Regions from separate parts of the Homo sapiens genome. Here all the other regions are linked to region 1. The links are contacts of gene promoters, found by promoter capture Hi-C in human tissues and cell types (Jung and others, 2019). All regions are on one chromosome and are shown on one strand. Each heading gives the region's core, a stretch centred on a gene start or on the middle of the fragment in contact. The rest is flanking DNA. Distances are from core to core; before and after follow the strand shown.

Region 1 (3,562 bases), core at 295-2,794:
GGATGGGAGCCAAAGATTTCCAGATGGTTCCAATGTGCAGTTTGGAGACCACTGCACTAGGCAATACGTGTCAGCCCAGCAGCTGTAGACACCAGAACACCCCAGGTAAGCCTTTAAAGTGGCCCCAGGTGGCAAGGTAATTATCATCTTCTCTCTCGCGTTGTATTCAATTGTAACAGGTGCCAGCCCCGCGTGGGGGCTCACGCCTGTAATCCCAGCATTTTGGGAGGCTGAGGTGGGCGGATCACCTGAGGTCAGTTCAGGACCAGCCTGAAACCCCGTCTCTACTAAAAAATACAAAAATTGGCCGGGCGTGGTGGCGGGCACTTGTAATCCCAGCCACTCAGGAGACTGAGACAGGAGAATTGCTTGAACCCGGGAGGCAGAGGTTGCAGTGAGCCGAGATCGTGCCATTGCACTCCAGCCCGGGCGACAAGAGAGAAATTCCGTCTCAAAAAAATAAAAAAATTAAAAAAGTAACAGGTGCCTTCAAGTACAATGGCACATTCAGCGAGGCCTGAGGGCGGTAGGGCATCTCTAGCCTAAGGGGGCAGCATGGGGAATGACTGACTAGGCTAGGGCAGGTACCACAAAAAGCCCCACAAGCCCAGAAAACAAAGGAAGCAAACTTTAAACACTCGCTACAGTCTGACCTCGCTACTACCACATAGTGACACCGCATAGTGATCAAAAGAAATGACCAAAAGCCACCCACCCAGAAGGAACCAAGCGGAAATTCCAAGCTTTGGTTTTGTCAGCAAATCAGCAGGATGGGAAGTGGAGAGCGAAGATTGAGACGTTCAGGGCGAAGCCCCTACAGCCAAGGGGCACTATGGGGGGTCAGGCAGGAGAGGGTAACAGCCTAGCCAGGCTTTGCCTTTATTTATTTTGTAAACAGACGGGTCTCGGACTGTCTCCCAGGCTCGAGTTAAGTGGTGTGATCATAGCTCACTGCAGCCTCAGCCTCTTGGGCTCAAGCGATCCTCCCACCTCAGCCTCCTGAGTAGCTGGGACCCCAGGCGCGCGCCACCAGGCCCGGATGATTTTTAATTTTTTGCAGAGACGGGGTCCCACGATGTTGCCCAAATTGGTTTCGAACTCCTGGGCTCAGGCGATGGTCCCGCCTCGGGCTCCCAAAGTGCTCGGATTACAGGCTTGCGCCACCGCGCCTGGCCCAGGCTGTGGTTTTAAAACAGCAGCAAGCAGCCTCCCGCCCCCGGGGCCCCGGCGCGGCGGCTGGGGCCCAGGGAAGGTGTCACCGCCTCGGCTCGCCGCTCCCGGACTCGCCCAGGTGACCGAGGCCAGGATGAGCCGCCGCACGGCGCGGACGCGAGGGCAGCACCCGCCGCGCCCCCCGCGCGGCCCCACGCTCACCCGATGACGTAGGCCAGGATGAGCAGTTGCACGGCGCGGTTCATGAGCCCCACTTTGCGGCTGCGGATGAGCACGATGCGCGGCGTGTCGTACTCGAACAGGAAGGCCGCCAGCGCGGCGCAGCAGCCCGCCATGGCCGCGCCGCCCGCTCCCAGTCCCCTAGTCGGTCTGGGTCCCAGTCCCCGCTCGGAGCCCCGCCCAGTCCGCCTGGCCTGCTGGCGGCGCCGTCATCGCGGAGGAGGGCCCGGAAGGAGGCAGCACGGGCGGTCGGGGCCCGGGGCCCGGGGGAGGGCGCCACCTCCCCGTCGGGAACGATGACCCTCTAGGGGGCATGGAACTCGCGGGGGGGGAGTGGCCTCGCCCTTGAGGACGAAAGGCTCCTTCAAAAGGCGGGCGAGGGGCCGGGGGCGGTGGCTCACACCTGTCATCCCAGCACTTGCGGAGGCCGAGGTGAGAGGAATCTTGAGTTAGAGACCAGCCTGGACAACATAGCGAGACCTCGTCTCTATCAAAAATACAAAAAAAAAAAAAAAAAAAAAAAAAAAGCGGGCGTAGTGGCGCTCGCCTGTAGTCCCAGGGAGGCTGAGGTGAGAGGATCGCTTGAGCCCAGGAGGTAGAGGCTGCCGTGTGAGCTGTGATCGCGCCACTGCACTCCAGTCTGGGAGATGAAGCGAGACCCTGCCTCAATAAACCAGAAACCAAAAAACAACAAAAAAGGCGAGTTGGGGAGTAATGACCTTCTCAGGAGGGCCAGAGAGAACAAGAGACCCTTTCGGGGAAGATGGGGTCCGCGAAGAGAGAGTGACCTCCCATTTGGGACAGAGTTCAAGTGAGGGGTAACGAGCGACCTCCCTTAGGGGTACTGATAGGTGCCAGGGATTTCCGTAGAGGACCCCGGGGCTGTGCGGAGTAGCCATCGCTCACGAGTGCGGGCTCCTAAACTTGGGCAGCTGTGGTTGGGGGAGCTGGGGCCGCGCTGTCCTTAGCCTCTTGGGGAACAGCCTAAATATCAGGTGTCCTGTGAGCCCTGGGTGAGAGCCACACGCCCTGTAAAATACCCCTCCTGGATTTGAAGCCTGGTCGCATTCTCACTCCAAATACTTCCTTAGTTGCAGCCCAGGGGAGATAATTCTGTGGTCATCCTTTCCACTGAGAAAATGCTATCACAACTTTAGGAGAGAAAATAGTGAAAGGGGGGGAAACAGCCACCGTTCTACCCCATGAATACAATTTTCCGCATGTGTATTTGTTCATTCCCTTCAGATACGTTTTTTCTTTTTCTTTTTCTTTTTTTTTTTGAGACGGAGTTTCACTCTTGTCCAGTCTGGAGTGCAGTGGCGCGATCTCGGCTCACTGTAACCTCCGCCTCCCAGGTTCAAGCAATTCTCCTGCCTCAGCCTCTTGAGTAGCTGGGATTACAAGTGCCCGCCACCACGCCCAGCTAATTTTTGTATTTTTATTAGAGACAGGTTTTCACCATGTTGGCCAGGCTGATCTCCAGCTCCTGACCTCCCATGATCCACCCGCCTCGGGCTCCCAAAGTGTTGGGATTACAGGCGTGAGCCACTGCGCCTGGCCCAGATGTGTTTTCACAGGTGAATGTTATATTTAGTTTCCCAGAAAATATTCATAAGCACATCCTTTATGCCAAGTACTGTCCAGTGAACAGGACAAGCAAAATATCCTGCCTTCATGCAGCATAAATTCCAACAGGTAATTGGTATAAAGTTTTGGTTTGTAATCATAGTCAATGGCTGTGCTTTTCATTTTCTGATTCGCACTACGTGGTTTCTGTGTTACTGCAGACTCATCATAATGACAATTTTTAATCCATGGACCATTTCTTCCGGAAAATATACCACGATGTCTCTAACCGCTCTCATCTGCTTGCTTCTTAGTTTGTGGATCCTATGCATAATCTTTGATACAACATTTTTAGCTCATTTCCTGGATATGAGATTCCTAAGTAAGCCACACCAACTTGTTTTTCCAAATATAGAAAGGTGAATAATAAAATTTGCAGAAAACAGGCAGCATCTGCCTCTAAGAGATGGAATTCTTAAGTTAGAGGGAGGAACAGAGATGCCCATGCCAGCCTTGGTCCAAAATGGTCTCAGGAAAAGGTGGTGGTATTTTATTCATTCATTTGACAGAAATTTACTGAGTGCCTGTTGTGTGCTTGGCACTT
Region 2 (3,562 bases), core at 790-3,289, 420 kb after region 1:
GACCATGGATGTTAAATTGAAAAGAGATCACTTATTGTGTATCTTAGTTTCTCCAGTTATTATAGCACGCTGTCAACCTAGTTGTATTTGCCCAGTTTTCACCGGGCACAGACCCAGTCACATGGGTTTCATTGTCCCTGGCAGTGCCAAAGTGGGCATGATAAAGACGGTAAGTCGACTCATTTAAATATAATGAGTCTTTTCTTAAATTTATGACATGGATCCTTGTATGATATAAAATTCCATACCAGTAGTTATTACTAGTGCAAGGAACCACATAAAACCTGGTGCAAAATCTGATTTTTAGATTAAATTATTACATAGCAGCTTATCTTCTGTCAACATTTTAAGCCAAATCAGTTTATACTCCTGAAACTCTTTTTAAAAGTCCTGTATTATGTAGCACATATGCAAGTGATGTTCTTAAACCAAATTATAAATCTGCTGTACATTGCATCACAGAAACCTAAAGAAATCTACCTATATTATTATGTCTAAGTTTACCTCAAAAACAAACAAAAACAAGAAATGGTTGTGCCAGTCCGTACAGTGGAAAGAAGTTACCTGGTAATACAGCTCTTTTTTTTTTTTTTTTTTTTTTTTTTTGAGACGGAGTCTTGCTCTGTCATTCAGGCTGGAGTGCAATGACGTGATCTCAGCTCACTGCAACCTCTGTCACCTGGGTTCAGGCAATTCTCCAGCCTCAGCCCCTGGGGTAGCTGGGATTACAGGCGCTCGCCACCATGCCTGGCTAATTTTTGTATTTTTAGTAGAGATGGGGTTTCACAGTGTTGGCCAGGCTGGTCTCAAACTCCTGATCTCAAGTGATCCATCCACTTCGGCCTTCCAAAGTGCTGGGATTATAGGCATGAGCCACTGCACCCAGCCAACATAAGCTTTTTTATTTTTTGTTCATGAAGCACAGTCTAAAGAGTGGTAGAATACTTCTTTTTTAAATGCTTTTTTTCTTTTTTTTTTTGAGACAGAGTCTCACTGTCACCCAGGCTGGAGTGCAGAGGTGCAGTCTCTGCTGACTGCATCCTCCGCCTCCCGGGTTCAAGTGATTCTCCTGCCTCTGCCTCCCGAGTAGCTGGGATTACAGGCACCCACCACCACACCTGGCTAATTTTTGTATTTTTAGTAGAGATGGGGTTTCACCATGTTGCCCTGGCTGGTCTTGAACTCCTGACCTCAAGTGATCCTCCAGTGTTGGCCTCCCAAAGTGCTGGGATTATAGGCATGAGCCACTGCACCCAACCTAAATGGTCTTTCTTAACTCTGCCAGCTATGTTGTACTAAATTATCCTTGACAACATTTCTTCAGTGCCTGCTCTGAGCAGTGGATGCCAATAGGATAAGGACAGATTAGCATAGACTGCAAAATTCACTTCCTCAAAGAAGAACATAATGAAGAAGCCATTACAAAGACGGCCGACCAGTACTTGATTATGGAATATAAAATTATTACAGATTGAAAGGATGACATGGAAAACAGGATGAATTTATCAAGAATCAAAGAAATAATAGCCAGAAAGATGAACAGAGAAACAGAGAGGTGTAGGTGCTAAGGAGATGGAAGTCCTGGATGATTAACAATGTGGAACAACTGGGGAGAAGGTTTTGAGAAAAAGAAAGTATAAATTTAGTGTTAAGATTTTGTCAGGAGTGTTTCAGACTGATTGAAGGAGACAGTAATCAGAAGTTTTTAAAAGATTGTAGCTGCCCACTCCCAAAATAATAAGAAACAAGGAATTTGTAAAGAGATAGGAGAGCAGGAGAAGTTGTAGGTGTAGCCAGCATCATTGGTGGGGTACGTGGGTGAAGGGTTACTCTTACGATTACATGCTTTGAATATGTCAGAAATGATTTGACTGTCCTTGATTATAATAGGAGCTAGGAGAAGGAGAAGCATTAAGTGAGACTCAACAGAGGGTTAGATGGGCCATGTGACTCATGCCCCAAAAAATCAGAACTTAAAAATGGAGAAATCAGTTTGTAATTGAAAGTTTCTCGCTGCAGGGTGCCCTAGGGTATTTGACCAAAAGACTGGGTAATTATTACTTCAGATTATAATAATGTTCCACCTATCTGGGCAACTCGAAACACATGGAAGTAAGAGGAAGAGTTGATCAGGCCTGCCAGGAACTATGGCACTCAACTCATTAGAAAGCAGAAAAGTAAAAGTGAAGACAGTAATGAAAAAGCACTACATGCCCACCACCAGAATAGCTAAAATTAAAAACCTTGACCATTCCCAGTGCTGATGAGGATGCACAGCAACAGCAAAGAGCCCTCTTGCGTTACTGGAGAGCATGCGTTAGCACAGTCACTTTGGAAGGCAGTTTGACATTTTACCTACTAAAGGTGACAGTATAAATACCCTTGGACCCAGCAGTGTCACTCCTAGTTATATATCCAGCAAATACAGTCACATGTGCATCAAGTCATGTGCAAGAGTGCCTAGAGCAGCAGCATTTGTAATAACCAAAAAATTGGAAACAACCCAAATGTCAACCGTAGAATGGATAAATTTTACTGTATTCATACAGTGAAAACAAGTGAACTGCTGTAGCTACATAAAACAGCATGGATAATTCTCACAAATCATATTGAGTCAAAGAAGCCAGACACAAAAAAATAACTACATAACTCAATGCATATAAAATTTAGGAAACAGGCAAACTAGTATTTAAGGATGCGTGCTTGGGTGGAAAACGTGTCATAAAAGTCAGGATAGCGGTTCCCTTCAGGAGAATGAGAGAGAGAGAGAAAGTAGTGATTGAGAGGGACACAAAGGAAGATTTCTGGGGTTGGTTTGTTTCTTGACTTGAGTGGTATTAAATATGTAATAATTCATTTTTGTGCTTTTCTGGGTGTGATGCTTCACCATAAAAAAGGTTAGAAAGTGACAGGAGTGAGGGTGGAGGGCAAGAGTTCCCTCCAGGTCCTCTGATTTCCCCTGACCTTGTTCTAACTTCTCTGCCTGCCCCCAAGAAGCCAATATAGAAATTTATTTTCCCATGGCACATCAGTCCTTCATTTAAGTAGTATTAAGTGGAATTTTAAAAAGCCATGTACACCCCTGCCCAATTATCTGACATCTTAAAGACTTTTACTAAACTTCAGTTATAATTTATTTGAGTTATAAAGATTGATGGAGATGTATAGTTGGGATCCTCATCTTTAGTAGAGGTATACATCTTAATCTTCTTGCTTAGATTGTAAACTTCATGAGATCTGGAAATGACTTTCTTTTAATCCCTCCTGTTGCTTACTATATAATAAGTGTTCAGCAAATAGTCAAAAGCATCGTTCTTACAGGGAGGTGTAAAATCAGTAATTTTCTTAATAGTTATTGGTTTTATTGCTCAGTGTCTATTCCATACCAGACGTACATTTAGCCTGTAGCCATGTTCATTGAATGTTAAAAATGATGTTGCTGTACAAAATTTTTAATTCCATTACCAAGCCTATTTCCTATGTTGATTTTTGCCTTAAAGATAATGCAACTGCACTTGCATATGTCCTCCTAATTATGGCTAGTCTGTTTTGCTTTGCTCAG
Region 3 (3,562 bases), core at 365-2,864, 370 kb after region 1:
CCTTGGCTGTGTGCTTGTTTTTGGTCGCAGTTTGGGATAAGCTGGAGCCGGGAGTGAGTACAGTCCAAATCAGGGTTCTCCTAGGAGAGGAAGGAAGAAAGTATGCTGGAGAAGTATCCAACAAGGGTCTACTACAGAGTCACACCTCTCCTGTAGAGCTGATAAGGAAAAAATAAATATGCATTCACTGCACTCGAGCCTGTATCTGATAACCTACCAAATTCAGATAGCCCATCTCTCAGGAGACCATTTCTTTTTCTAGCCTTTCGTGTCTATGTCCTTTTATTCTTCCTTGTTTTGGTAAAGCATTTTATAGCTTTAAGACAGTTCCTTTGTTTTAAGTAGTAAGTATGGGCTGTGTTTATAATCACTGTGTCTGAGTTTTATTTATTTTTTATTTTTTGAGACGAAGTCTTGCTCAGTCGCCTAGGCTGGAGTGCAGTGGTGTGATCTTGGCTCACTGCAACCTCCGCCTCCTGGGTTCAAGTGACTCTCCTGCCTCAGCCTCCCAGTAGCTGGGATTACAGTCGCCCACCAACACACCTGGATAGTAGAGACTATACCATTTTGATATTGTCAGAATTTAGGCACTAGTCATGTGTGTGTGTGTGTGTATGTAACAGCTGCAGGAAAGGTTGGAAATGCATTATTTTAAAAATCAGGATTATTTTACCAAAAAGGGAGAGAATAAATGTTGGAAGGAAATTTGCAGTCTCTGCCATATTGTAGTTTTTTATTTTTCCTTTTTAGGTGGGTATTTTTAATTGCCTAGTAAATTGTGGTAGTTGAAGTTATCTGTTTGACTTACAGGAATCGCATTCCCTTCTGATAATAAATGGAAGGTTGTTGTATGATATAAAGAGTAAGTACAAATACAGTGCTAAAAAGCATTATAGAAAATTCAAAAATGTTTAATGCCTTCAAATGCAGCTAAATACCAATTTGGATTCAGGAAGAACTAAGATTTTAATATCACGTATTTCAGCTAATTGAAGACTATTGATTTAACATTATTTTTGTGCCACCAATAAAAAAATGCTGCCAGTTATAAAATGCGCTCCAATTTCAGAGTTGTTAAAATATGAGGAAAGTACCTCTTTGACAATATTAACCTTTTTCATATCTGCCTTTTTTCTCTTCACATTTCTCTCTAGCCAGTTGAAGGGACAATTATTGCTTGTGATTGAGAACTGGTCAAATGCAGATAAACTAGGCAAAAATAAAACCATATTAATAATATAGCTAGTACTTATTAACATCAGATATACAGCCAGTTAGTCTTACAAATCTTAGCTAACAAGTTACATTAAAATGTTACTGCTCTGTATCAGTTATCTATTATCTATTGCTGTAAAACAGACTACCGCAAAACCTAGTAGCTTAATGTCACCATTTTGAAATTTTTATTGACATAATTATAGATTCACATGCAGTTACAAAAAAAAAATGCAGAGAGCTCATGTGCTCTTTGCCTGGTTTCTCCCAATGGGCAGCGTTTTGTAAAACTCTTAACAACACAATCAGGATATTGGCATTGATACAACCCATTTATCTTATTCAGATACCCCTGGTTACTTGCACTCGTATATGCACGTATGCACACACACATGTGCATGTTAAGGCGTGTACAGTTTTACCACCTGCCTGTGTTTCTGTATGCACCACCACAGTCAGGATAGTGAATGGAACTAACACTGAAAGTATCCCTTGGGTTGCCCTTTTGTAAGCATATCCCACACCTTCCCGGTGCTAACCCTCCATTCTCACTCCGGTCCCTAACTCCTGGCAGCCACTAATCTGTTTGCCATTTTAAAGTTTTGTCCTTCCAGAAATGCTATATTTGCTCATGATTCTTCAGATCTGCATTTGGGCAGGGGCTCAGTTGGGATGGTTTTGTCTTTGTCCCGTGTGGTGTCTGCCGGACTCTACCAGCACTGAAGGATCAGGATGGTCTCATTCACATGCATAGAGCCTTGGTACTGGCTTTTTGTTGAGGTGTCTAAGTGCTCCTCCCCACAACCTTTCTCATGTAGTTGTCTTCTGCTAGGCTTCTTTCTCTGTGTGGCCTCTTTCCAACAGGAGAGCCTGGACTTCCTTGCATGCCAGCTTCAGGTGCCAAGAAAGCAAAAGTGGAGCCTGCTAGATCTCTTTTCAATCTAGGCCTAAAACTGGCACAGCCTGCTTTCTGTAGCCGTCTTTTGGTTGGAGAAAGTTGCAAGGATAGCCCAGATTCAAGGGGAGGGGAAATAGACTCCCCTTCTTGGTGGGAAGAGTAGCAGATATATGCAGAGATGAGAGGCATTCTTGGTGGCCAGCTTTACAGACAATGTGGTGCACACTCCAAAGTTACAGAAATGATGGCACATGGGTCTGCTTGGATTTGTTGTAAATGCTACCTTACTTCAATTTTGAAATGTGAACTCATTTGAATTTCATAAAAAGTACAAAGGAGAATGTGATATGGTTACATAGTTTTCTGTTGCTAATGCCCATTTCAGATAGAACAGTTCTGTTGCAAGGGAAGTTGCCAGAATTTAAGTTACCAACCAAATCTAAGGATTCTCAAGGGGCCTGTGGTATTTGCAGAACAAGTGGTTGCTTGAAGTGGCTGTTAAGATGTTAGGAATGGTTCACCTCTCTCTCATTTTCCCAGGCTAGCTGTTTCTTGTGATCCTAAAATAGCAGGGGCTTGTATATGTAGTGCCAGAATTCTGTAATACCGACTTGGAGAGACCACACAGATTTCTGTCTTTACATTAAGCTTTTTACATGAAGGCATAAGGATATTGTTTTTCAAGATACTATCAACATAGAAGAGATCTTTTAAGAGGGAGAAGAGTTTTTCAATCAAGGAAATGAAACCAGTAAAACATTTTCTCAAGATTTTTCTGACTATAAAATGTTAAGCTTCCTTCGTTTTGTTGTAAGAGTGACAGCACAGTGGGTCAGAGGATAGATCTTAGACTTCATCGTCAGAATTCTTGATCATCTATAACTGTATGTATAACATCTATGACTAACGAACAAGCTTGCCTAGATTTCTTGAAGGAGAGATAACGAAAGAACTACTGTTTAGCAAGGGCTACATGCTTAGAGAGTATTTCATAAATCATGAGGATGGTTAAGGGTAGGTGTGGTTTCAAAAATAAAATGAATTTTTCACTCTGAGTTTAGAATTATATGTTATTTGGCTAAGAGCTTCCTTCTGCCTTCCTTTCTGAGTGATAACTGATTTTACAGACATTTAGTATGCACTGTCGATCTGTGGAGCATATTGTTAGACATCATTAAAAGGAAGTTGGAACAGGGTCCCTGTTTTCCAGGAGACTGTGGTCTAACAGGACAAATAAGATGTATGCAGAGAGGTAATATAATACCAAGGTGATTAACATAGAAGAGTTTCAAAATGAGGCAAGAATGTTACAACAAACTAAGCTGCCTGAACCTCATTTTTCACCCCTATAAAATAGATTTGTACTGTTTTTCTTCCATCTCTAAAGTATTAATAGTTCAGAAATGTGTGTTTCAGTTATTAGTTGGAGGGTTAGTTTTTATAAGATGT
Region 4 (3,562 bases), core at 650-3,149, 360 kb after region 1:
CTATTTAAATTTAAGTTCATTAAAATTAAGTACAACTACAGATTAAGTTCCTTAGTTGCACTCACTGCATTTCAAGTGCTCAGTAGTCCCATGTGGCTAGTGGCTACCTGATTGGACAGTGCTGTAATATTACTAGAATGTTTTCATGATCACAGAGTTCTGTTGAACAGTGCTGGCTTACATTAATCACGATTCACTCCCTGGGCCTTTTCAGAATTGCATTTAGTCTTGAGATTTTCTCAGGTGCATTCCAGAAAGCATGTTCATGGTGAACAGCCACAGAATCTGACAATGAGACCACCCCATGTGGCTCTGGGGCTTCAAGTACACCCCCATTCATTTGCATGAGTGAAATAATTTCTCTGTGTAGGAGAAACAAAAAGGTTGTTTTACTGCCAGAAAAAGTACTGAACACATTTCTGAAGTACTGTTTTTCTTTTCTTTTCTTTTTTTTTTTTGAGATGGAGTCTTGCTCAGCTGCCCAGGCTGGAGTGCAGTGGTGCAGTGGCACGATCTCAGCTCACTGTAACCACCATCTCCCGGGTTCAAGCGATTCTCCCGTCTCAGCCTCCCAAGTAGCTGGGATTACAGGCAACTGCCGTCATGCCTGGCCAGTTTTTGTATTTTAGTAGATACGGGGTTTCACCATGTTGGCCAGGCTGGTCTTGAACTCGTGACCTCATGTGACCTGCCTGCCTCGGCCTCCCAAAGTGCTAGGATTACAGGCCTGAGCCACAGCGCCTGGCCTGTTTTTCTTGAGACCAGTCATTTTATTTGAAAATTAAGCTTTGAGGTCATAGTGCTAAATAGCCAGGGCCTATGATTTACTTGACAAAAATTGTTTTTTATACATTTGTCAGTTTCTAATTGGGTAGTTGGAAAATGCCAGGAAACTATTATTTCTGTTCATTTTTTGTGCTATATGGAATCTGTTATACTGAGGGGATGTACTTTATAAGTTATTAGTACAAGGATTAATCACTGATAGTCCCCTTCTCTCGTCATTCTTGCACTCTGTGGGGTCTAGTGATCCATCCATACAAGGAGAAGAAACGGTGGCTGGAGGGATAATGAGTTCCCTCTCCTCTTTCCTACACACTAGAAGTAGGGTCAGGAAAGCCCTGCATGCTTCTTCCTTCCCTGTCCCTTCCCTGCCCCTTGTGGAGGGTCATCATGAAACAGTTACATGCAGGTGCTATAAAAATCCTGGCGTGTTCTTTGGTCCAAATAGTGATCTTGAATGTCATAAATATAAGAATATTTTCATTGCACTGTTTTTCCTCAGTTGAGCAGGTTTTGATTATAACAAAACAAATGCCCCGCTTTGGAAACACTTGGTAATGACTGTTATTTAAAAGGAGTAGGAATAATAGGAAGTTAGCTTCTTCTTGTTGACCTTTGGAAAGGTTTGTAACTTCATGATGCTTCCTTAGACTTTGGGGCATTCAGGCTGACTGAATTTTAGACCCAATTGACAGTCATTTTTGCTTGAGTCTTTTTGAAAATCTTTTTAGTATTATTAAAATGGTTTCTTGCCTTAATAAAATATACAGAATATATAATTTAACATGTATTTGGCTTTGATAGCACCTCAGGCTCTTGTTCATCAATTATTGTTTTAGTGATTTATAGGTGTAGCTGTTGCAAAAGGAAGGTGGTCACACAGCACATAGCTGCCATGACTTAAAAAGAAAAAAGACCTGTGCTGTTGGCTTGCTTACTTCTCCATTGTATGTTGGCAAGACTAGATTTACTTAGCATCAGACTACTAGAGTATGTATATAGATACATATAATTCAACACTTATCACCAAAACAGTTTCTTGAGCATTCTAAAATTGTTTTAGGGGTGGACCATGTTTACCTCCCACTGAATGTGGAGAATTTTTTAGGTGCTTCATGGTAAACCCTTGGCTTTTCTGATTTCCTTGGGTCAGTTTCCTCTGCCCACCTCACAGGAGGCTGCCACATGTGTTCTTACATTTACTCCTTGAAGAGCCGTCAGTAAAGGGTACATTGATAACTTGCACAGTCATGAGTAATTCAGTTTGAGTAGCTAGGTTTATCCTGTTTGGGGAACTGACTGTCACTGTGGGGTTTTCTTCTCCCTCTGGCCTTTTTTTTCCCCGTGTGTGTGTGTGTGTGTGTGTGTGTGTGTGTGTGTGTGTGTATGTGTGCGTGTGTGTGGTGGTGGTGGTGTTTGTTTTCATGTGGTTTTGGGTTTGGGTTTTGTTGTTGTTTTTTGCTATTCCAAATACAAATTCATCTCACTTGCTTTCATAATATATTCAGTAGTTTTTCTGAATTGCTATGAAAATGTGAATTTTATCTAAAACTGATTTTTAAGGTATGGTCTTTGGACTAGTAGTAGCATCTGTATTGCCTGGGAACTTTTTAGAAATTTATGAATGCTTGGCTCTGCCCCAGATCTGCTGAACCAGAAACTCTGGGGTAGGTACAGCGATCTGTGTTTTAACAAGTCCTCCAGGTGATTTGGATACACCATCAGCTTTGAGAATCACTGGTCTAGAAGATCCATGAATTTAATCATTTTGAACAAATGCTGAAACTTCCTTTCCATGTGCTTTGGTGTGCATCATATCTTCTTCTTAGTCTAAAATTTATATCAAAAGAATTAGGAATACTATGGTTTGTTACAGCTTCTTGTTTTGCTACTATTGTGTACATTTTTAGAAGTTACTAAGGAAAAAATTTTACGTTTGGTGTCAGATGTTTGTCCATGTGACATTTGAATGAGTAAGTGCAATTCCTTTGGGCAGATAAAAATGTCAGTGTACTTTATTTGTCTAACAGGAATTCTCTGCTTGTAGATGTAATATAATATAGTTCTGTAGACTTAGAAATCAAATATTTACCATATACATTTTCCTTCATTTGCTTGCCTTAGGAAAAAAAGTGGATGAGCAGATAAGATGATGGTAAAGAATATATCTTTAGGCCGGGCGTAGTGGCTCATGCCTGTAATCCCAGCACTTTGGGAGGCTGAGGCGGGCGGATCACCTGAGGTCAGGAGTTCAAGACCAGCCTGGCCAACACAGTCAAACCCTGTCTCCACTAAAAATACAAAAAAATTAGCCAGGCATGGTGGCGGGTGCCTGTAATCCCAGCTACTCGGGAGGCTGAGGCAGGAGAATCGCTTGAACCCAAGAGGTGGAGGTTGCAGTAAGCCGAGAATGCACCACTGCACTCCAGCCTGGGCGACAAGAGTGAAAATCCATCTTAAAAAATATATATATATATATGAAATATATATGATATGTATATATTATATGAAATATGTATTTCATATATCATATGTATATATTATATGAAATATATATTTCATATATGTATATATGATATATGAAATATATTTTATATATAATATACATAGATATAATATATGAAATATATTATATGTATATTATATATAAAATATATTTCATATATGTAAAATATGTATATTATATATGCATATATTTCATATATGTAAAATATGTATATTATATATGCATATATTTCATATATGTAAAATATGTATATTATATATGCATATATTTCAT
Region 5 (3,562 bases), core at 789-3,288, 310 kb after region 1:
TTACAGGCGTGAGCCATCGCGCCCGGCCTGGACCTCAATCTCATCAGTGAGCCTTTTCCCAGGGCTCTCTGATAGAGCTTTGGAGGAAACACTTGGAACCTAACTGGTCCTGGCACCTGGCAGTGGGGGAATAAGGAAGGAGAGCTTTGCTTCTGAAGGGAAAGTGTACTTGGCTTTCTCTTTAAAGGGTTTCCCTTGGGGAACAGGCAAGCGGCAGATGTATGGGCAATGGCCAACTGATCCATTTGGAGATAGATTCAGGGTGTGGTGTTCCCTGTAAGCCTGGGCAGGCCCTGGGAAACTGGAGCAGAGCTAAATTCTGGCCTAAAGTTGGGCAAGCTGCAGAGAAGCTTGAGTACGTTGGTTTCAGGTGTGTGAGTTTTGCCTTCTGCAGAGAAACAGGGGGGTGAAGGGTGGGGGTGGAGGGGTGTCCAGGAGGGTTAGTGTATCTGTTGCCCAGGCATGTTTCTAAATTCTGAAGCTGCACTGGTTAATCATTTTTATTCATGAACACAGTAACTGGCAAGGAGGCTTAGCTGGGCCCTCAAAGTCTGGCCTCAGTGCACCTTCTCAGTATATTTTCTCAACACTCCAGCACAAATCACCCATCCCACTCTCGGATTCAAGCTCACCAGGAATTGGGCCTTACTTCATGCCATTCTTTCTTTCTAGAATGCCTTTTCTTTTTTTTTTTTCTTTTTCTTTTTCTTTTTCTTTTTTTTTTTTTGAGACAGAGTCTCGCTGTTGCCCAGGCTGGAGTGCAGTGGCGCAATCTCGGCTCACTGCAAGCTCTGCCTCCGGGGTTCACGCCATTCTCCTGCCTCAACCTCCTGAGTAGCTGGGATTACAGGCGTCCACCACCACGCCCGGCTAATTTTTTGTATTTTTAGTAGAGACAGGGTTTCACCGTGTTAACCAGGATGGTCCCGATCTCCTGACCTCATGATCCACCCACCTCGGCCTCCCAAAGTGCTGGGACTACAGGCGTGAGCCACCGCGCCCGGCCAAAAGAATGACTTTTCTTTGATAAGCCTCTCACCCTTTCAGACGGCCTCATCCACTCCTGGGGAAGCATTCCGCAGTACCTGGGGCCTCAATTAATCTCTCTCTTCTCTCTCCATCTAAGCTCCAGATTCACTTTGTTGGTCTCTGGTCTAGCTCTACCGTGTTTATTTCTGTGCCGGTTTCCAGACCTCCAAATGGACGGTTTCCTGAGCCTTCTGCCCTTGCTGTTCCCTCTGCCAGGAACTCTTTTCCTGTGGATCTTTGCAAGGCCAGCTCTCTGTCATCATTCAATATCAGCTCAAATGTCACCTCCTAAGCGAGGCCTTCCTTGACCACCCTATCTAAAGTAACCCACACCTCTGCTCACTCTCTGTCCCCTCACCTTGTGTTACAAAATGTGTTTTTGTAAAACTTAGCAGCATCTGAAATTATCTTATTTGTGGGCTTGGACTATGTCTCTTCCTTTAGAATGTAAGCTCTAGGAAGGCAGAGTGAGTTGACACATGGTTGGCACCCAACAAATATCTGTTGATTGATTCTGTGAAGGCAAGCGTGGGGTATTCGACTTGGTGCCGGGCCTGGGCGCAATAAAGGTTGGCTGCCTGGAATATTTGCTACCTGAATGAATGAACCAAGGAACATACGAACGAAGGAATGCAGCCCTCTGCCTGTTGACTGACAGGTTGACTGACAGTTGGGGGGCCCGTGGCCAGCAGACTGTTGACTGACGGTTGACAGCTGAGTGGCAGCCAACAGACGCGCATCGGGGTTCCCGATTGGCTGGTGCAGCAGCCCCTCGGAGAGGGGCGGAAGAGGGTACCCGAGGCGACATCTCCGCGTGGGGAGGGGGGCGGCACCAGGCAGCGGGAGGCGGCCCAACTGCTCTGGCTGTGCGAGCAGCAGCCGCCTAGAACCCAGGAGCCGACGTCTCTGCGCATGGGCCCGGCTCGAGGGGCGGGGCGCGCATCACGTGAGCGTGTTTTGGGCACGTGACCCGCGCGGGGCCAAGGCTCGCCCCCGCCCCCGCCCCTCCTCCCCTCGGCGGGTGTGATCGAGTGGCCTCGCCTCATCGCCTAGCGCCCCCCTCAGTCGCCGCCGCCTCCGCCCGCCGGCCATGTCCCCCGGCCGCCGCCGCCGCCGCCCGAGCGCGGCGCTCCCGCGGCCCCGCGCGCAGTGAGCGCGGGCCCGTCTTGCCGTTCGCCCGCCCCAGGGCCCCCTTGTTCTCCGCGCCGCCGCCGCCGCCATGTTGGGTTTGGAGCTGCAGCGGAGCCGCCGCCGCCGCCGCGGGTGAGGGAGGCCGAGAGCGGAGCCCGCCCCGCCCCGGGGCCCAGGGAGCGGGGCCGCTTCGGAGCCCGGCCTCTCCCCGCCAGCCGCCTTCCCGGCCCGCCGTGCAGCCAGCGAGCCAGCGAGCGAGCAAGCAAGCAAGCACCGGACCCCGGCCGCGCCTTCAGCTACGGCCCGAGCGAGCCCGCCGCCGCCGGGCCCGGCCACAGCCTGCAGCGGAGCCCACGAGAGGCAGCGCCATGGCGGAGCAGACCTACTCGTGGTGAGTGCGGGGCTCCGGGAGGCCGGGAGGCGGCAAGGGTGGGGGTCGGGGCGCCGGCGCGGCCCGCCGAGGGGAAGAGGAGGAAGAACAGGTGCGTGTCGTGGGGGGGGGGCGCGGGTTGGGGTGCACGCCCCCCTCTTCCCCACCGGAGGGGGCGGCTGGCGCGCACGGAGGGCGGTGAGTGGCCGGGGACCTGGCGTCCGAGAAGGGGAATGGAGGAGGAGGCAGCGGCGGATGTCATCTGGCTATGGGCGGAGCAGGTGATGGAGAAGGGGAGCATGACCCCGGGGGTGGGAATCCCACGGATGGGAAGTTGAATCCGACAGGCACCCCGGAACTGACTCGTGGGGGTGTTTCCTGGGCAGGAGGACTCGAAGGGGTGGAGAGAGGCAGGCCAGGGCAAAGGTGGGCCGCTGGGCTGAGAGGAAGCTCTAGTGAGAACAGGTGATAGAGGCAGAACTTCTAAGTTGGGAGAGTGGAGCGGCCGCCGCTTGGCTCTGGGACAGGGAGCGCAGGGAGAGTTGGTGAGGTGGGCAGAGGCCCGGGAGTGAGGGGAGGAAAACTGCGGGGGTAGAGTCCACGAACCTTGGAGGGGAGTCACTGGTGAAGAGGTTGGAAGAGGAGCCTGAAGAACCTGTTTCCTTTTCCTTCTGGAAAAGGAATTCGTTGGTGACAGTGGGGCATGGGCAGAGTCTTTGTAAGGGTTGGTACTATTATTTTCAGAGGAATGGCGCCCAGGGCCAAGTGTGGAGGTGGAGGACCTGCAAGTTAAGTTCATTTCTGTGGGGCTTTTAAAGTTAGTAAGTAGCTCGTTAAGGGCCGAGAAGCGAGAAGCTACTGTGTAGTTTATGGGGTGACAACCTACATATCCGGAGAAGGGAGTGCCAGGGTTTGGGGGAAGGAACATGAGGGGTCTCCCTTTAGCATGTAGAGGTGGGATATTTGCAGGACGGGTTGAAGGAATGATGGCAGTATCCATGAAGAGTGGAAATCGGGTAGTGAGAAGGAAGT
Region 6 (3,562 bases), core at 702-3,201, 280 kb after region 1:
AGAGGTTGAGGCTGCAGTGAGCCGAGATCGCTCCACTGCACTCCAGCCTGGGCGACAGAGTGAGATGCTGTCTCAAAAAAAAAAAAAAAAGAGAGAGAGAGAGAGAGAGAAAGAAGGCCTCCCTGAACCCTGATTTTCCCTGGAGACCTGAAGGATGAAGAGGAGTTAAAGGCAGAAGGGAATAAGGAGCCGGAGAAGCATTCCAAGCAGAAGGCCGGCACTTGCAGAGGGAGGGAGGCAGGAAGGAGGATTGCTCATTTGAGGAACTGAGAGCCAGCCAGTGAAGAAGAAGTGGGGCTGGAGCTGGGGTGGAGATTGTGCTGGGTCTTCAACTTTATCCTCAGGGCACTGGGGAGCCACTGGTGGTTTAGAACACAGGAATGACATGACCTGACTTTCAAAGGACTCCTCTGGCTGCTGTGAGGAGGATGGACCCTGTGTGGGTTAAGGGCAGAGGCTGAGAGTCCAGTGAGGAGGTTAACGGTCTCATCCAGGCAAGCAGTAACCATGTTCACACAAAAACTTATATATGAAAGCTCATAGCAGCTTTATAGTAGTTCAAAAGTGGAAACAACCCAAATGTCCATCCACCGAGGGAACAGAATGTGGCCTATCTGTACAATAGAATCATTCTGACCATAACAAGCAATGCAGCTGGGCACAGTGGCTCATGCCTGTAATCCCAGCACTTTGGGAGGCCAATGTGGGTGGATCACTTGAGGCCAGGAGTTCAAGATCAGCCTGGCCAACCTGGTAAAATCTCATCTCTACTAAAAATACAAACATTAGCCGGGTGTGGTGGCACAGGCCTGTAATCCCAGCTACTCGGGAGGCTGAAGCATGAGAATTGCTTAAGCCTAGGAGGCGGAGGTTGCAGTGAGCTGAGATCGTGCCACTGCACTCCAGCCTGGGCAACAGAGCAAGAGTCTGTCTCAAAAAAAAAAAAAAAAAAAAAAAAAAAAAAGAGGAATGCAGTACTGACACACTGCAACATGGATGAACCTTGAAAACATTCTGCAGAGTGAAAGAAGCCAGACACAGAAGACTGTAAATCGTATGATTCCATTTATATGCAATGTCCAGAATAGGCATCTCCATAGAGATAGAAATTAGATTAGATGTTGACAAGGGCTTGAGGTTGGGGGTGGTGAGAGAATGGGGAATGACGGTGAATGGGTGTGGGGTTTCTTTGGGGAAGATAAAAATGGTTTGGAAGTAGATTATGAAAGTGGTTGGGCAAGTTGATAGCTACACTAAAAACCACTGAATTGCACACTTTAAAAGGGTGAATTTTATAGTTTGTGAACTATATCTCAATCAAAAAAGGAGGAGGAGAAGGAAGAAGAAAAGAAGAAGAGGCTGGGCACGGTGGCTCATGCCTGTAATCCTGGCACTTTGGGAGGCTGAGGCAGGCAGATCACTTGAGACCAAGAGTTCAAGACCAGCCTGGCCAACATAGTGAAACCCCATCTCTACTAAAAATATAAAAATGAGCCAGCTGTAGTGGTGCACACTTGTAATCCCAGCTACTTGGGAGGCTGAGGCAGAAGAATCACTTGAACCTGAGAAGCGGAGGTTGCAGTGAGCCGAGATCACACCACCGCACTCCAGCCTGAACAGAGCGAGACTTTGTCTCATAAATAAGTAAACAAATGAATAAATGTGAGTAACATCCTATATTAGTTTCCTACTGCTGCTGTAGAAATTACCACAAATATTGACTTTACACAAGCTTATTCTCATAGTTGCGGAGGTCATGAATCTGACATCGGTTTTATAGGGCTAGTTCCCTGTGAGGGCTCTGAGGGAAGAATGTGTCCTTGCCTTTTTCATCTTCTAGAGGACCACCTGCATTCCTTGGCTCACATTCCCTTCATCGATCACTACAACCTCTTGTTTCCATCGTCAAATCTGCTACCGCTCACTCTGGTGTGCCCACCTCTTCCAAGGACCTGTGTGATTATATTGGGCTAGATAATCCAGGATAATCTCCTCATCTCAAAAATATTAATTTGATGCATCTACAAAGTCTCCTTTCCTATAATCATAGGTTCTAGAGTTCTAGAGATTAGGACATGGACATCTTTTTTTTTTTTTTGAGACAGAGTTTTGCTCTTGTTGCGCAGGCTGGAGTGCAATGGCGCGATCTTGGCTCAACGCAACCTCCACCTCACGGGTTCAAGAAATTCTCCTGCCTCAGCTTCCTGAGTAGCTGGGATTACAGGCATGTGCCACCACGGCCAGCTGATTTTGTATTTTTAGTAGAGAGGGGGTTTCTCCATGTTGGTCAGGCTGGTCTTGAACTCCCAACCTCAGGTGATCCCGCCACCTTGGCTTCCCAAAGTGCTGGGATTACAGGTGTGAGCCTGCTCCCGGCAGGACCTGGACATCTTTTAGGGGTTATTATTCAGCCTACCACACACTTACCAGATTTAAAATTCTATGATGTACACTTACCTACAGTATCTCATTTAGATACTTATGAGGTGTTATCATTCCTATTTAATGAATGAGAACGCAGGTCTAGAAAGCTTCATTGCTTAGCCACAGTCATATAGTCAAAGAACTAGAAACTCAAACCGGAGTATATGGCCCTAGAGACCATGTAACAGCACTACACACCACTTCTCCTCCACCAGGCTGCCTGTAAATCACGGGCCTTTGGCCTCTCATTTTCTTGTACAACTCAAAAAAAAAAAAAAAGAAGAGGAAGAAGAAGAGGAAGAGGAGGAGGAGGAGGAGGAGTAGGCGGTGGCAGCGCCATGGCTCAAGCCTGTAATCCCAGCACTTTGGGAGGCCAAGGCAGGAGGATTGCTTGACCCCAGGGGTTTGAGACCAGCCTGGGCAACATGACGAGACTTTGTCTCTACTAAAAACAAAAACAAAAAAAACTTGGCTGGATGCAGTGGCACATGCCTGTAGTTCAACTAGTTGGGAGGCTGAGGCAAGAGGATTGCTTGAGCTCAGAAATTCAAGGCTGCAGTGAGCTATGATTGTACCACATCACTGCACTCCAGCCTGGGTGACAGAGCAAGACCCTGTCTCTCTGACAGAGGAGAGAGAGAGAAAGAGAGAGAGAGAAGGAATGAATTGACCTAAGAAGGAAAATGGCTGAATTCGGGATATATTTTGGATGTGGGTTACTTAGGGGACACAGTGGGGCAGGAATTGGTCCTATGTGAGTCCCTGCATCCCTCAAGTGTGCCACTGGAAGAAAAGCAGAAGGAGCAGCAAGTATGGAGCCCATGTCAGGGTGTCACCAGCTCCCCAGTGTGAGCCACTCACAGAACGCAAAGGCCATGCAGTGCTGGGATTCAGAAAGTATCAGATTTCAAGGCCTGTGTGTCCTTGGGTGAGTAGCTTGGCCTCTCTGGGCCTCTGGATGGACTGGGGGCAGCGAGTCTATAAAGCCCTGAGCTGCCTTTCCTGCATTCTCAGCACATTATTGGAACCTGAGTGCATCGTGACAGCCCGGTGTGCTGACAGCTGGCAGAGTCCACACGCCTCTTCTACGCGTGGCTTCAGTGTCCTCTCATAAACCTGACCCTGCCCGGTCAACCCC
Region 7 (3,562 bases), core at 527-3,026, 270 kb before region 1:
CGACAGAGCACGACTCCGTCTTAAAAAAAAAAAAAAAAGGATCTACTTGAGGGTGGAGGTAGGCAGGAGAGGGCGAGGATCAAAAAACATTACCTATTGGGTATTGTTGTGCTTACTACCGGAGTGGCGAAATGATCTGTACACCAGTCCCCTTCGACACACCATTTACCTATATAACAAACCCGCCCATGTACTGCTGAACATAAAAAGAAAAAAAATATTGGAAGCTGGACGCAGTGGCTCATTCCTGTAATCCCAGCACTTTGGGAGGGGAGGCCAAGGCGGGAGGGTTATTTGTTGACCATCCTGGGCAACATGGAGAGAACCTGTTTCTACAGAACTTTTAAAAAGATTTAAGGCCAGTTGAGGTGGCTCACGCCTGTAATCCCAACACTTTGGGAGGCTGAGACGGGAGGATCCCTTGAGCTCAGGAGTTCAAGACCAGCCTGGGCAACATAATGAGATCCCCGTCTCCATAAAAATTTTTTTAATGATAAAAAAAAGTTTTAAAATAAGAAAAAAGCCTGGGCACGATGGCTCACACCTGTAATCCTAGCACTTTGGGAGGCCAAGGCAGGTGGATCACCCGAGGTCAAGAGTTTGAGACCAGCCTGGCCAACATGGTGAAACTTTGTCTCTACTAACAATATAAAAATTAGCTGGGTGTGGTGGCAGACACCTATAATCCCAGCTACTCTGGAGGCTGAGGCACAAGAATCGCTTGAACCCGGGAGGCAGAAGTTGCAGTGAACCGAGATCATGCTATCGCACTCCAGCCTGAGTGACAAGAGCAAAACTCCATCTCCAAAAAAAAAAAAAAGGAAAGACAAAAAGAAAAGAAGAAAAAAATTAGCTGGGCATGGTGGCATGCACCTGTAGTCCTAGCTCCTCAGGAGGCTAAGGAGGGAGGATCCCTTGAGCTCAGGAGTTGGAGGGTGTAGTGGGCTGTGATTGTGCCACTGCACTCCAGCGTAGGTGACAGAGTAGACTTTGTCTCTTAAAAAAATAAATACATATATACATACATATATAAAAATAACTGGGGCCAGGCCAGGTATGGTAGCTCATACCTGTAATGAAAGGTATTTTTACAATACCTTTTTAGAAGGTACCATTTTTAGAAGCCAAGGTGAGACCATGCCTCCACAAAAAATAAAAAAAATTAGCCTGGTGTGGTGGCTTTGTGCCTGTAGTCCCAGCTAGTTGGATGAGATGGGGGGATTGCTTGAGGCCTGGAGTTAGAATCTGCAGTCAGCTATCATTGGCACCACTGCACTCCAGCCTGGGTGACAGAGTGAGACTCCGTCTCTACAAGATTCAAATTAAAAAAATTGTTTCATCAGGAGATGAAAAATGATCTTTGAAGAATGTCATTCCGTGTGAATTAGCTGGCGATGTTTGGCAGAGCTTTTCCTTGTCAACTGGGGCTACCCCTAAAAACAGTTCCTCCTGAGCCAGCAGTGTGAGGGCTTCACTTCTTGCCCTTTAAATGCTGATTTTCAAAGTAAGGAGTTGGTTAATGGCTATTTCAAATGGTGACAATAGATTTTGTCAGGCTTTTTCTATTTTGAGTGTCTTGATGGATCTATGAAAATCCATGAAATGAAGAACAAGAATGGTAACTGAAGAGAGAGGCCCATGGCAGCAGCCAGGGAAAGGGAGGAGGGAGGGAAGGAAGGAGGGAGAGAAAAGCCATATGTATTGGAATTAAAGTGTCATCGGAGCCCATCAGACCCCCACAGTGACTGTTAGCAGCTCATTTAAGAGGTGATTGAACTATCTCTTTGTTTCAGTTAGTTTTAACACATCCCGGGGTTTAGGGCCTATAGTTTCTAACCGTGTTACCTTTCAGGAATAGGACCTAAAGTCACTCTTTTTAATTTTATTTTTAAGAGACAGGGTTTTTTTTTTTTAAAAACAAAAAACAAAAAACTACCTGTTGGATGCCGCTTGTCTTGTTCGGTCACCCAGGGTGGAGTGCAGTGGCGTGATCATAGCTCACTGCAGCCTGGGACTCCTGAGCTCAAACAGTACTCCCACTTCAGCCTCCCAAATAGCTGGGACTACAGGCATACTACCATGCTCGGCTAATTTTTTTTTTTTTGAGGCGAAGTCTCGCCCTCGTCCTTCAGGCTGGAGTGTAATGGCACAATCTTGGCTCACTGCAACCTCCGCCTCCCGGGTTTGAGTGACTCTCCTGCCTCAGCCTCCCGAGTAGCTGGGATTACAGGTGCCTGCCACCATACCCAGCTAATTTTTGTATTTTTAGTAGAGACAGGGTTTCACCATGTTGGCCAGGCTGGTCTTGAACTCCTGACCTCAGGTGATCTGCCCGCCTTGGCCTCCCAAAGTGCTGGGATTACAAGCGTGAGCCACCGTGCCGGGCATTTTTTTTTTTTTTGGACACAGAGTCTCACTCTATTGCTCAGGCTGGTCTCAAACTCCTGGACTCAAGTAATCCTCCTACCTTGCCCTCCCAAAGTGTTGGGATAACAGGTGTGAGCCACTGCCCCTGGCCTAAAATCTCTCTTGAGTGATGATAGAGCCATAGGGAGATGCCCCAACTCTTGGAGAGAAAATAACATCTATTCAAAGACGTGGGGGTTGTGGGGCAGGGGGGTTAGTCTTCTCCTCATCTCCAAGATTTTCTTTCTAAAAAAAATTTTTTTTTATAGATGGGGTCTTGCCATGTTGCCCAGGCTGGTCTCAAACTCTTGGGCTCAAGCAATCCTCCTGCCTTAGCCTCTCAAAGTCCTAGGATTACAGTCATGAGCCACTGTGCCTGTTTTTTTTGTTTTGTTTTTTGAGACAGAGTCCCTGTCTGTCACCCAGGGTGACTGAGTGCAGTCACAATCTTGGCTCACTGCAGCCGCAACCTGTTGGGCTCAAATGATCCTCACACCTCAGCCTCTTGAGTAGCTGGGACTTAAAAGTGCATGCCACCTTGCCTGGCTAAATTTTCTTCTATTTTTTGTAAAGACAGGGTCTCAGTGTGTTGCCCAGGCTGGTCTCAAGCTCTCTGGGCTCAAGTGATCCTCCTGCTTCAGCCTCCCAAAGTGTTGGCATTACGGGTATGAGCTTCCACACCTGGCCTCCAAGTTTTGGTATAGTTTTTTTGTGTGTCCATTTTTGACCAGATTAGCTAACCTAGGGAAGACATGTCTGATGAAATACACACACACACACACACACACACACACACACACACACACACACAGAGTCATGTGTAGTTTAATGACAGGGATACATTCTGAAGAATGCATCATTAGGCAATTTCGTCATAGAATGTCCTTATACAAACCTAGATGATATAGCCCTCTACACACCTGGGCTGTATGGTAAAGCCTGTTGCTCCTGGGCTGCAAACTTGTACAGCATGCTACTGTATGAATACTGTAGGCAACTGTAACACTATGGTAGGTATTTTTGGTTTTCTGTTTGTTTGAGACAGAGTCTCGCTCTGTCTCCCAGGCTGGAGAGCAGTGAGTGGCATGATCATGGCTCAATGCAGCCTCAAACTCCCAGGCTCAAGAGATCCTCCTTCCTCGGCCTCCCCAGGTGC

Evidence for each region. The method cuts DNA at HindIII sites, captures the fragments that hold promoters and counts their contacts. A contact is called where the count stands out against the background at its distance.
Region 2: a fragment that was not itself captured here is called in contact with the fragment with the promoter of P2RX4 in region 1 in 2 of the 25 tissues and cell types used here (aorta and hippocampus).
Region 3: a fragment that was not itself captured here is called in contact with the fragment with the promoter of P2RX4 in region 1 in 2 of the 25 tissues and cell types used here (dorsolateral prefrontal cortex and mesenchymal stem cells).
Region 4: a contact is called between a fragment that was not itself captured here and the fragment with the promoter of P2RX4 in region 1, in 5 of the 25 tissues and cell types used here (IMR-90 fibroblasts, lymphoblastoid cells, mesenchymal stem cells and 2 more).
Region 5: the fragment with the promoter of SPPL3 here is called in contact with the fragment with the promoter of P2RX4 in region 1 in 2 of the 25 tissues and cell types used here (hippocampus and liver).
Region 6: a fragment that was not itself captured here is called in contact with the fragment with the promoter of P2RX4 in region 1 in 2 of the 25 tissues and cell types used here (heart left ventricle and lymphoblastoid cells).
Region 7: a contact is called between a fragment that was not itself captured here and the fragment with the promoter of P2RX4 in region 1, in 4 of the 25 tissues and cell types used here (H1 embryonic stem cells, dorsolateral prefrontal cortex, spleen and 1 more).

What each region holds. Positions count from the first base shown.
Region 1 is chr12:121,208,111-121,211,672 of GRCh38, reverse strand. It overlaps P2RX4 (purinergic receptor P2X 4), which reads right to left and starts at 1,544. Exons shown (of 12, transcript NM_002560.3): 1 at 1,375-1,544. The coding sequence starts at 1,508. It overlaps LOC105370032 (a long non-coding RNA gene), which reads left to right and starts at 1,601. Exons shown (of 4, transcript XR_001749352.3): 1 at 1,601-1,824. RefSeq lists an enhancer at 719-768 and a silencer at 1,099-1,838. The HindIII fragment of the contact is 10,060 bases long and covers 1-3,562 here.
Region 2 is chr12:120,786,869-120,790,430 of GRCh38, reverse strand. All of the region lies in intron 3 of SPPL3 (signal peptide peptidase like 3), which reads left to right. Among named protein-coding and RNA genes, the nearest start is that of ACADS, 63 kb to the right of the region's middle. The HindIII fragment of the contact is 5,083 bases long and covers 1-3,562 here.
Region 3 is chr12:120,834,874-120,838,435 of GRCh38, reverse strand. The region is part of intron 1 of SPPL3 (signal peptide peptidase like 3); the gene reads left to right. Among named protein-coding and RNA genes, the nearest start is that of SPPL3, 68 kb to the left of the region's middle. The HindIII fragment of the contact is 7,575 bases long and covers 1-3,562 here.
Region 4 is chr12:120,852,591-120,856,152 of GRCh38, reverse strand. The region is part of intron 1 of SPPL3 (signal peptide peptidase like 3); the gene reads left to right. Among named protein-coding and RNA genes, the nearest start is that of SPPL3, 50 kb to the left of the region's middle. The HindIII fragment of the contact is 8,131 bases long and covers 1-3,562 here.
Region 5 is chr12:120,902,834-120,906,395 of GRCh38, reverse strand. SPPL3 (signal peptide peptidase like 3) reads left to right here and starts at 2,038. Exons shown (of 11, transcript NM_139015.5): 1 at 2,038-2,551. The coding sequence starts at 2,529. It overlaps XLOC_009911 (a long non-coding RNA gene), which reads right to left and starts at 1,701. Exons shown (of 2, transcript NR_131215.1): 1 at 1,624-1,701. RefSeq lists silencers at 1,839-2,198, 2,279-2,498, 2,639-2,688. The HindIII fragment of the contact is 15,749 bases long and covers 1-3,562 here.
Region 6 is chr12:120,933,116-120,936,677 of GRCh38, reverse strand. No RefSeq gene overlaps it. Among named protein-coding and RNA genes, the nearest start is that of XLOC_009911, 30 kb to the right of the region's middle. The HindIII fragment of the contact is 5,842 bases long and covers 1-3,562 here.
Region 7 is chr12:121,474,838-121,478,399 of GRCh38, reverse strand. All of the region lies in intron 12 of KDM2B (lysine demethylase 2B), which reads left to right. Among named protein-coding and RNA genes, the nearest start is that of MIR7107, 32 kb to the right of the region's middle. RefSeq lists an enhancer at 1,377-2,204. The HindIII fragment of the contact is 8,981 bases long and covers 1-3,562 here.